Linked DNA regions of Homo sapiens: regions 2 and 3 are each linked to region 1. The links are contacts of gene promoters, found by promoter capture Hi-C in human tissues and cell types (Jung and others, 2019). All regions are on one chromosome and are shown on one strand. The core of a region is centred on a gene start or on the middle of the fragment in contact, and the rest is flanking DNA. Distances in the headings are between cores, read along the strand shown. Region 1 holds the start of HOXC5 (homeobox C5). Region 2 overlaps FLJ12825 (a long non-coding RNA gene). Region 3 overlaps FLJ12825 (a long non-coding RNA gene).

The links. The method cuts DNA at HindIII sites, captures the fragments that hold promoters and counts their contacts. A contact is called where the count stands out against the background at its distance.
Region 2: a fragment that was not itself captured here is called in contact with the fragment with the promoter of HOXC5 in region 1 in 1 of the 25 tissues and cell types used here (neural progenitor cells).
Region 3: a contact is called between a fragment that was not itself captured here and the fragment with the promoter of HOXC5 in region 1, in 3 of the 25 tissues and cell types used here (neural progenitor cells, psoas muscle and small bowel).

Annotation. Positions count from the first base shown.
Region 1 is chr12:54,031,450-54,034,737 of GRCh38, forward strand. HOXC5 (homeobox C5) reads left to right here and starts at 1,601. Exons shown (of 2, transcript NM_018953.4): 1 at 1,601-2,127; 2 at 2,829-3,288. The coding sequence starts at 1,674. The coding sequence ends at 3,043. MIR615 (microRNA 615) reads left to right here and starts at 2,501; the gene lies at 2,501-2,596. It also overlaps a transcript of HOXC4 not described here. RefSeq lists enhancers at 1,116-1,410, 1,405-2,556 and a silencer at 2,640-2,699. The HindIII fragment of the contact is 19,535 bases long and covers 1-3,288 here.
Region 2 is chr12:54,086,550-54,089,837 of GRCh38, forward strand. All of the region lies in intron 1 of FLJ12825 (a long non-coding RNA gene), which reads left to right. Among named protein-coding and RNA genes, the nearest start is that of FLJ12825, 30 kb to the left of the region's middle. The HindIII fragment of the contact is 9,088 bases long and covers 1-3,288 here.
Region 3 is chr12:54,070,085-54,073,372 of GRCh38, forward strand. The region is part of intron 1 of FLJ12825 (a long non-coding RNA gene); the gene reads left to right. Among named protein-coding and RNA genes, the nearest start is that of FLJ12825, 13 kb to the left of the region's middle. The HindIII fragment of the contact is 5,968 bases long and covers 1-3,288 here.

The DNA of each region.
Region 1 (3,288 bases), core at 351-2,850:
AAAATTCCTTCTTCATTACAGCTCCAGCCGGGCTGGTTCCTTACTTTTCTCTCCTCAAACGGGTGAAGAGGCGGGTGAGGAGCGCAGCCGGACCCTAACCATTTATCAACCCTGGCCTTCTCTCTCCAAGCCTGGCCAGAGAAACCTGAGTGGGCCTACAGGGAGAGGTGTTGAGGAGGGTCTCCGGAGGGAAAAAATCCGCCAGAGTTTTCCGGGCCCTTCAGATTCCCTCCAGCGCCCCCACCCTCGCCTCCAGTGCCTCCACCAGTGAGGAGGGGGCCTTCTCCTGGCGGGGCGGAGATTTCCTGGGAAGAAGCAGGCAGGGAAGTATGAGACTTGGGGCTACGGGGGAAGAGGATGGGGCCGAATGGCTGCAGATACCCTGCGAAGGCTACCCAGGCGCCTGCCCTGCCCACCCCCCAGGTCCGCCCCATTCCTCTTGGTAGCTCAGAAATTGCTCTCTTGTGAACCTTATGGATTCAGGTCCCTGGAAAGCCTAGCCCAGAGACCTTTTCCCCAAAGGGCACATAACGGGCCTTTTCCTCTGCCATGCTCACGTAATATTTGTGGAGGCTTCAATCTTGCTTCTCCATGTCCTCAATTAACATCTATTTTCTGTCTAAAACCTCTGGCATAGGTACCACATAAGGATCGCACACAGGGAAACAGAGCAGTCCTCTAGACCATTGTCTGGCTCTGTCCGTGTCCACACACACACTTGAAAATTGCCTTGTTGCCACTCTGGGGACCCTAGCATGGTGAGGTCTAGCCAACTCCACCTGGCTCCTCACCTCCAGATCCATCCCAAACAGCCTGCAACACCCTCAGCTTCATGACCCCCCTATCTTGTTCTGACCACTCAGGATCCCTCCTCCTGGGCGTCCTGTCTACCTCTTCAGAAGCTAATTCTACTTTCTCTTGCTGATAGGCACCTCTTCAGCAGTAGTGGAGCCTTAGGGCCTGAGAGGCAAGGGACTTCTACCTTTGGTTTAGGGAACCTAAGTTAAACCCCATTGGTTCTCCAGCCTGGGCATAGGCCACCTTACCTAACTTAATCCCCTTTCCTCAGCCATTTTTGAAGATTGGAAGACCCTGGAGGTTGGGAGAACGGGACTTTCATTACAAAAAGCACTCTGTGCGTTATAAGTGGGGCCTCGTCTTTTCCCAATTTTAAATAGAATTTAAAAGGCTAGCTCAGGGGTTGCCCCAACAACCAGCTTCTCCTTCACAGTGTAGGAAATCCAGCCACCGGAAAGCAAGCTGGCGCTCCAGGATGCAATTCCCCCACATAGGCACCAGGTGTCGCTGTGGGCTTGTTGTCCCGGCTACCCCCAATTCCAAGAACCTTTTTTTTTTTTTCCCTCCCCCTTCCCTCTTTCTCTCTCTCACTCCCTCTCCCCCTTGGTTGGGCTTTGCCAACATATCGAGATGCTTTTCGCCGGCTTCCATCACTAACCTCCCGGAGGTCATCAAGCCAAATTTATGAGTGGCCGCTCGAGTCACGTGACTCTATTTAAGGCTCCCTTATTTGGGAAGAGCGCATAGGATAAAGAAAGAGATATCTCCACCTATAAATTGTCCACTTTGGAGAACAAAAAACCCCTCAACTTCAAAGAGTCACAAATCACCCTTAATCAAAAAGGGTGCAGAAATTTTTTTGGGCCCTCCCCGCCATGAGCTCCTACGTAGCCAATTCATTCTATAAGCAGAGCCCCAATATCCCTGCCTATAACATGCAAACTTGTGGGAACTATGGATCGGCCTCAGAGGTGCAGGCATCCAGGTACTGCTACGGCGGATTGGACTTAAGCATCACTTTCCCACCGCCTGCGCCTTCCAACTCTCTCCACGGGGTAGACATGGCTGCCAACCCCCGGGCTCACCCCGACCGCCCCGCCTGCAGCGCCGCGGCCGCTCCGGGACACGCTCCGGGCAGAGACGAAGCGGCTCCTCTGAACCCCGGGATGTACAGTCAGAAGGCGGCTCGCCCGGCGCTGGAGGAGCGAGCTAAGAGCAGTGGGGAGATCAAAGAGGAGCAGGCGCAGACAGGGCAGCCCGCCGGACTGAGCCAGCCACCGGCCCCGCCACAGATTTACCCGTGGATGACCAAACTGCACATGAGCCACGGTAAACTTTAGGACTTCATTTTGCGCTCTCGGGTCCGCCTGGGTTTTATAGGCCATGCGGGGCAAATAAAGAAAAAAAACCTGCGGCCATAAATTTTACGATCCAGGCATCAATGGCTCGTAAAACTGTCCACTAAAAGGCTTAGAGGCTGTGTGCGCCCAAATTTACGACGACATAATTGGATCATAGGAACAAAACGTGTATAAAAGGCAATATTCAATTTTTGGGGGAGAGGGAGGGAGTTAAAAAAATAGAGGGATCTGAAGGGTGAGGAGCGCGGGGCTCCAGAGCGGGGATCCCCCCGCGGCTCCCTCCCTCCCTCCCCTGCGGAGCCGGCTCCGCCGGCGCTTGCGGCTCCGGAGGATTCCAGCGACTCGGGAGGGGCGGGAGGGGGGTCCCCGGTGCTCGGATCTCGAGGGTGCTTATTGTTCGGTCCGAGCCTGGGTCTCCCTCTTCCCCCCAACCCCCCCTCAGCCCCTCCGGCTGCAGAGTGAAGGCTGCGGTGGAAAGTTTCCTGCCTGGGCGGAGGCGCCTCTCCCGGGGCTGGGCTGGGCTGGCCCGCCTGCGGCCCGCGTGGCCTGTCTTGCGGCTCTCGCCTCCTCTCCCTCCGGCCGCGGGTGGGGGCCTGGGCTGGGGTGGGGACGGGGGAACGCTGCAAGCTATTCACCCCTTCCTGGCTTGGGGTGGGGTTTATGTTCCAGAGACGGACGGCAAGCGGTCCCGAACCAGTTACACGCGCTACCAGACTCTGGAACTCGAGAAAGAATTCCACTTTAACCGCTACCTCACTCGCCGCAGGCGCATAGAGATCGCCAACAACTTGTGTCTCAATGAGAGACAGATCAAGATCTGGTTCCAGAACCGCAGGATGAAGTGGAAGAAAGATTCCAAAATGAAAAGCAAAGAGGCTCTTTAGAGGCAGCGGGGGAGGCCCGCAGAGCGCGCCCCTAGCCGGTTCCTGTCCCTGCGCCTTTCCTTTTCGCCTTTCCTCTCTATATTTCGGGTCGGGGGCAGGTGCTGGAGCACTGGGCTCCCGGGCCCCACAGACAAAAGCGCTTTTCCTTGGCATTCCGCATCCCTACCGACCCAGGGTTCCCGCGGGGCTGTCGGCGCTGCCCCATCTCCCCTCAGCTCGGCTCAGCTCGGTACCCGGGGCCCAGG
Region 2 (3,288 bases), core at 530-3,029, 55 kb after region 1:
CCCTTCTGGCCTTGAGAAACTGAGAGGCAGTGTACCACAGTGGTTAAAAGCATGGGTTTGTGATTCAAGTCCCTGATCTGACACTTGCTAGTTGTACAAACTTGGGCAAATTACTTAACCTCTCTGAGCCATCCATAAAATAGACATACCCGCTGACCTTATAGAGTTGTTCTGTAGATCAGATTGAATTTTATTTGCATAGATCCGAGCATTCAGCAGGGGCTTGATAAGTGGTAGTTATTGTGTTACAAGCTTCTTGTGAAGAAAGAGAGATGTTCTTCAGATTCCAAAAAGTGAAGGAATTGCCTCCTCCAGCACCAGAGAGGGAGGGATAAAAATTACACAGTCTTGCAGATAAGCAGGGCCCATTTACCGGGCACTGATACTCTTCTATTAGCTCTAGAGGGTCTCAACTTTCGCTGCACACTGGAATCCCCAGCGAGTTTTTCTGTTTGTTCGTTTTTGTTTTTGAGATGGTGTCTTGCTCTTGTCGCCCAGGCTAGAGTGCGGTGGCACATCTCGGCTCACTACATACAACCTCTGCCTCCTGGGTTCAAGCAATTATCCCTGCCTCAGCCTCGCGAGTAGCTGGGATTACAGGTGCTTGCCACCATGCCTGGCTAATTTTTGTATTTTTAATACAGACGGGGTTTCACCATGTTTGCCAGGCTGGTCTCGAACTCCTCACCTCAGGTAATCCACCCGCCTCGGCCTCCCAACATGCTGGGATTACAGGTGTGAGCCACCATGCCCCGCCACAAGTTTTTTAAAATACTGATGCCTGGGTCCCACCTCCAGAGATTCCAATTTGGTTGGCCTGTAGTAGGGCCTGGGCATCTGGATTTTTAAAACTCCCCAGGTTGCTAATGTGTAGCCAGAGGTTGAGATGCAGGCCCTAGGAAATGATACAAGAGATAAGGGGAGGGCTGACACTTCTGCCAGAGCAAGGGAGGGGAGGGATGCTCAGCTGAGAGCTGCTTCTCAACCTTGGACATCCCCTACCAGTGGCACTGCTTCAGTTGGGGAAGTTTTCACTTAGAATTAGCTTCTCTTGAGATCCCAGAATTTCAGACTCTCACCCTTTTCATTTCCTATAACTATTAGAATTTACAAAGGGGCCACCCCAAGAGGAGACAGAGGAATCGACAGATTGACCTCTAAGAGGCTCATCTCTTATCAGAAAAGCATATGGTCCCCAGACCACCAGTGATAGAAGCAGAGGCAGATACCTCCAGTAGTGGGAAAATTTGTAGTTACATAGTAAATGGAGTTTCTACCTGGTTGCTACAATAATAGGCCAAGCAATTAGGATACAAGTTTCCAGGATCTTTTCCTATATTTCCAAAAAGATAAATCACCCCTAGGAACAGAATCTGCATATTGTAATTAACTGATAAATATTTCATGCCTGGTTCAAACTTTCTCCTCTTCTATTTAATGGCCACAAACTTGAGCACAGAGGAAACAGGAGTGAGGAGAGTGGGGGTTGGCTGTAGGGGGGAGGTTCTACCTTGGCTTCAGGGAGGGAGAAACTGTCTTAGTTAATTATTTACTGTCCTCCTGTTCTTTTAAGAAAACATTGCTCACCTGGAGAAAATCAGGTCCCAGGTGGTAAAGGGTGTGACTTGGGCTTGTTGGCCTGAGCCCTGACCTCCCCCAGGAGAGGCCAGTTTTTGATGACCCTGGGGGTGCTGGGAACTGCAGGCTTTGGAGTCAAGGGCCCAGTGTTTAAACAAGAGCTCTGTTCTGTCACTTATTAACTGGATGGCTTTAGGTAATTTACCTAATTTATGTGAAACTCAGTTTCTTCATCTGTAAAACAGACATAATTTTTACCTTGTAGGGTGGCCTATGCTCAGTTGGCTCTCAATGCTTGATAACTATTATTATCAACAGTAACAATGAATAATTAATAGCCCATTGGATTGTACCCTTTCCCTTCCTCAACCCTGCTCCAATGTGTAGGGCACCTAAACTATTGGATGCTTACTGTGAGTACGGTGAATGCCTTAGCTCAATTAATCAACATAATTCTTTGAAGGGAATATCTTATCATCCCTACTTACCTGTGTTTTGCAAATGAGGGAACAGGGCGTGTAGAAGTTAAATACCTTGCCAGGTGTCACACAACTAAGTGGTTAAGAGCACAGGCTCTGCAGTCTGACTGTATAGTTTCAAATTTGGGCTCTGCCACTTAATAATAGACTCTCCTTGACTTACAATGAGGCTGTGTCCCGATAAAGCTGTAGTAAGCTGAAAATATTGTAAGGTGGATATGCATTTCATACACCTAACCCACCAAACATCATAGCTCAGCCTCGCTTACCTTAAAGTGCTCAGGACACTTTCATCAGCCTACAGTTGGGCAAGATCATCTAGCACAAAGCCTATTTTATAATCAAGTGTTGAATATCTCATGTATTCAACATGAGATATGTATTCATCTCATGTATTCAACATGAGATATGTATTCATCTCATGTATTCAACATGAGATTCAACATGTTATAATATACTGTGCTGAAAGTGAAAAACAGAGCGGCTGTATGAGTATTAGAAGTACAGTATCTAATGAATGCATATCACTTCGGCATCATCATAAAGCTGAGAAATTGTAAGTCAAAGCATCATAAGTCGAGGACCGTCTGTAATCACTGCAGGATGGAACATAAATTGCTTAACCTCGCTAAGCCTCAGTTTCTTCATCTGTAAATTGGGGATATGAATGGTACCTACCTGAAAGGTAGTTGTGAGAATTAAGTGAGAAATGCGTGTATAGTGCATGTCTCAGTACTGGCATGTGGTAAGTGCCCAGTAAATGTGAGTTGTCAGTACCATCATCATACTACCCAGCAACTCAGGGCCATGGTGTCTCCTGCTGTTTGGTGGTGTTTGGGAGGTGAGTGAGTGTGAGGGTCCTCCAAAGGTCACAGAGCTGCTCTTTTAACTCCCCCTGACAGACACACACACTTCAGTATCTAGGACTCGGGAAAAAGGACACTAAGCAGATTATGACTCCATTTCGGGAATTAAATCAAAACTCAAGACTAACTCAATTTGGCTTCTGACAAGAGGGAAAGGTTAAAAGGGAGTGAGGAGGCGGCTGGGTGTGCGTTCAGAATTGCAATTGGTTCTGGATCCCACCTCCAAGCCCCTCCACAGGGCCAGGCCCAAGGAGTATCCCCCGGGGGTGGAGGAGTGAAGGAGCCTTAGAACCTGTGTTATCTGAATGTGGGTGAGGTGGGGAGAACATGGTCAAGGAGTTGGGAAATTATCCAGAAACATTTTC
Region 3 (3,288 bases), core at 228-2,727, 39 kb after region 1:
ACCTGGCCTGCTGATCTCTTCTTATAAGGACAGTAGTTATATTTAATTAGAGCCTACCCATATAATCTTGCCTTAACTTAATTACCTCTTTAAAGGGCCTATCTCCAAATACAGTCACATTCTGAGTTACTGAGGGTTAGGACTTCAAGAAATGGAACTTGCGGAGACACAATTCAGCCCTTAACTGACACCATGACTCTGGATTCCTAGTCCGCTGCCATTGTGCCCATGTCAGACTAAGTCATCTGGTGGATCCTATTCTTAAGTTGGCTCAATTTTGTTATGTTTCTTAGGGATGGGGAAGCTGTTTAGAGCCAACGTGAAATTGAAAACTGTTTCCTGGAGCCAAGGCCCATTGGGAAACTGAGTGAGCATGGGCTGGGGAATCCGGGATTAGGCTGACCACCAAACACTGGGAAATGGAAGTTTCTAACCAGAATCTTGGAACTGGAAAGAACTCAGTGAGGTTAACTTAGCCATCTCAGATGGAGGAGAACTTACCTGGTATGTTCAGAGAACACAACTGTCTGAGAGCTCTCATCACTGATATATTCTTTCTTATGTGTATTCAGATTCTTCAGGCCAAGCTCAAACCCCTATCCCTTGCCTCCAGTCCTCAGCGTTGGACAGTAAGATAAAACTCATCCAATAAGAGAGGTTTTCTCCCTTGAAGCTTGAAGAAGCCTTGACAAGATCTTAAGGAAATTTTTTTATTCAAGAGAGCCTCTTTCTCTCCTCATCTGAGGCTGGAGGTGGGGAATTTAGAGGCAAAAACTTCCCTTACCCCGTTGTTGTCTGTCCTAAGACCTTCAGCCCCTTATCTGGGCCCTGGCCAGCTCTAGAAAATGGATTAAGGTGAGTTGATATGTAATGTGGTACAGAAGCAGGGAGAGGGGAGAAGCCCTCTAATATCGCAGAGATCACAGATGGCTCCAGTGGGATTATGGGGCATGGTGTATGATGAGGCTTGTGCCAAAAAGTGGCCACAACCAGGAAGAAGGGTCCATCTTATTATGATGGTTGGTGACTCTCCCTGCCATGGAGAGCAAGCTTGGATTCTGGGGTTTGGAGGGAGCAACTCCAAAAATATCCAGCTGAAACACACAGAGCCAGAGTCAGCATGGTGCTGGGACTAGTACTGGTTCAGGGATCAGAACACCTGGGTTCTGATCTCTGTCTGAGCCTCAGTTTCTCTTCCTTCACAATGAAGTGGTTTGATTAGGTTATCACTAAGATCCTTCCAGCTCTGAGACTCTAAGCAAAAACTGAAGGATGCTGGGGGGCAGGGAGAAGGAATACTCTTTGTAGCAAATCAGATGATGGACTATGTGTCTCTGTGAACCAAACCAGGCACAGAAAACTCTCCATCTTCATTCCAGAGTTGGTGGGGGGTGGGGGAGTAGGGGGTGTTAGCTGTGGTGTCTCCTTATTTGACAACTCAACCTTTTCCACAGAGCCCCTGCAGACACACTATGGGGAGCTGTTTCCCTTAAGGACCCTGCCCCTGAGGGAAGAGAGGCAGAAACAAGATGGGGCAGGAAGTTGGAAAGGGTGTCTGCATGATGCCAATAGCCAGGTGAAAACAGAGAAATCAGCCCACTATCTGCTTAGTTTCAAATAGAATAAAGGGATCCAATTTTGTAGCTTTCATCTGATGTAATGGATAATGAGATGCAGGATCAGCCTTTTGCAGTGATTCAGTTTAAAGCCCCTGGGAAGGATCTGTTTCCCCCTCCCCAATTATCCTGCCACAAAAAAGCCTTAAGTTCCACCATTAAAGCACATGGTGTTAAGTACAGTCCTCTGCAGATCACATCCTTTAAAATACAAAAGCACCACTGGGATACTTCATCAAACAAGGATAGAATCAGAAAAGTAGTGCTTAGGGGGTATGCTTAGGGAGATGAGGGGCCCTGAAGATTAATCTCTAGATACTTCTCAGTTTCACATTGCCTGATCCTTGTGGGAAAGCTAGATTCTGCCTGAGGAAGTGGGAACTCAGGGACTCCCCTAGAAACCAGATGCCTGCAATTATGAGTATATTTCTAGTCCTGGGAAATGGGTGGACTCTAAGTGGTGAGGGTAGTTATCACACCAAAAAATCACAGAGGCTGCCAGTAAAACTTAAATCAGGGGGATGGAAATTCTGATAATATACGTGCATTTGGGTCAGCCACTATAGAAACCAGTGTAGAAGTACTTCATGGGGCCCCCTGTATGTCCAGAGGATATAAAACTATTCCAGAGGGGGAAAAATCCCTTCCATTTCTATGATTATCTACTGTATATCTAACCCATAAGGCATGGTTTGAAAGTATTAAAACCTAGCAGATAGGGAAACACACAGCCAGGGTTCAGATCTAGTGATGTGACCTTGGGTGGGTGACTTAACCTTTCTGAGAATAGATTTCCTCATCAAATTCAGTATAAAGCAACTGGCATATAGTAATCTTCTAGAAATGGAAACTATTATAGTTATGAGTACTGAGGGAGCTTCAGGACACTATTCATGAATTGGCACTAAGCCATGGAATGAATGGTCACCATAGTCAGAGCAAATCAGAGGTCCAGACCCTGATAAATTCATGCATAATCTTTTTCTTTTTTCTTTCTTTCTTTTTTTTTTTTTTTTTTTTGAGACGGAGTCTTGCTCTGTTGCCCAGGCTGGAGTGCAGTGGCACAATCTCGGCTCACTGCAAGCTCTGCCTCCTGGGTTCACACCATTCTCCTGCCTCAGTCTCCTGAGTACCTGGGACTACAGGCACCTGCCACCACGCCCAGTAAACTTTTTGTATTTTTAGTAGAAATGGGGTTTCACCGTGTTAGCCAGGATGGTCTTGATCTCCTGACTTCGTGATCCGCCTGCCTCAGCCTCCCAGCGTGCTGGGATTACAGGCATGAGCCACTGCGCCCGGCGCATAATCTTTTTCTTACCTGAGTGAATCTTGTTTTTTCCCAACTTAATCTTATCTTTCAGGATCTGCCAATAAAAGAAGCAGAAAGAGTCCTGTACCCCTCCATGCAGCCTGGAAATTTTAGGTTTGGGCCAAAGTTGGCCTTACCCACAGACAGGATGGGTGGCTGCCTTCATGACAGGATTTAAGAAAAATCATAAACCATCCTCACCCAAATTTGTATTATGCCACCTGCCACATGGGTCTAAAATTCCATTATTATAGATATTTCCCCCGATCTGGGCAGTGGCTTCTGAAGACCCCTACGAAAAACACACAGTTGCCTGGGAGAATGTGCATGTCAACACATTGGTGAAAGTTTCCTAACCTGCAA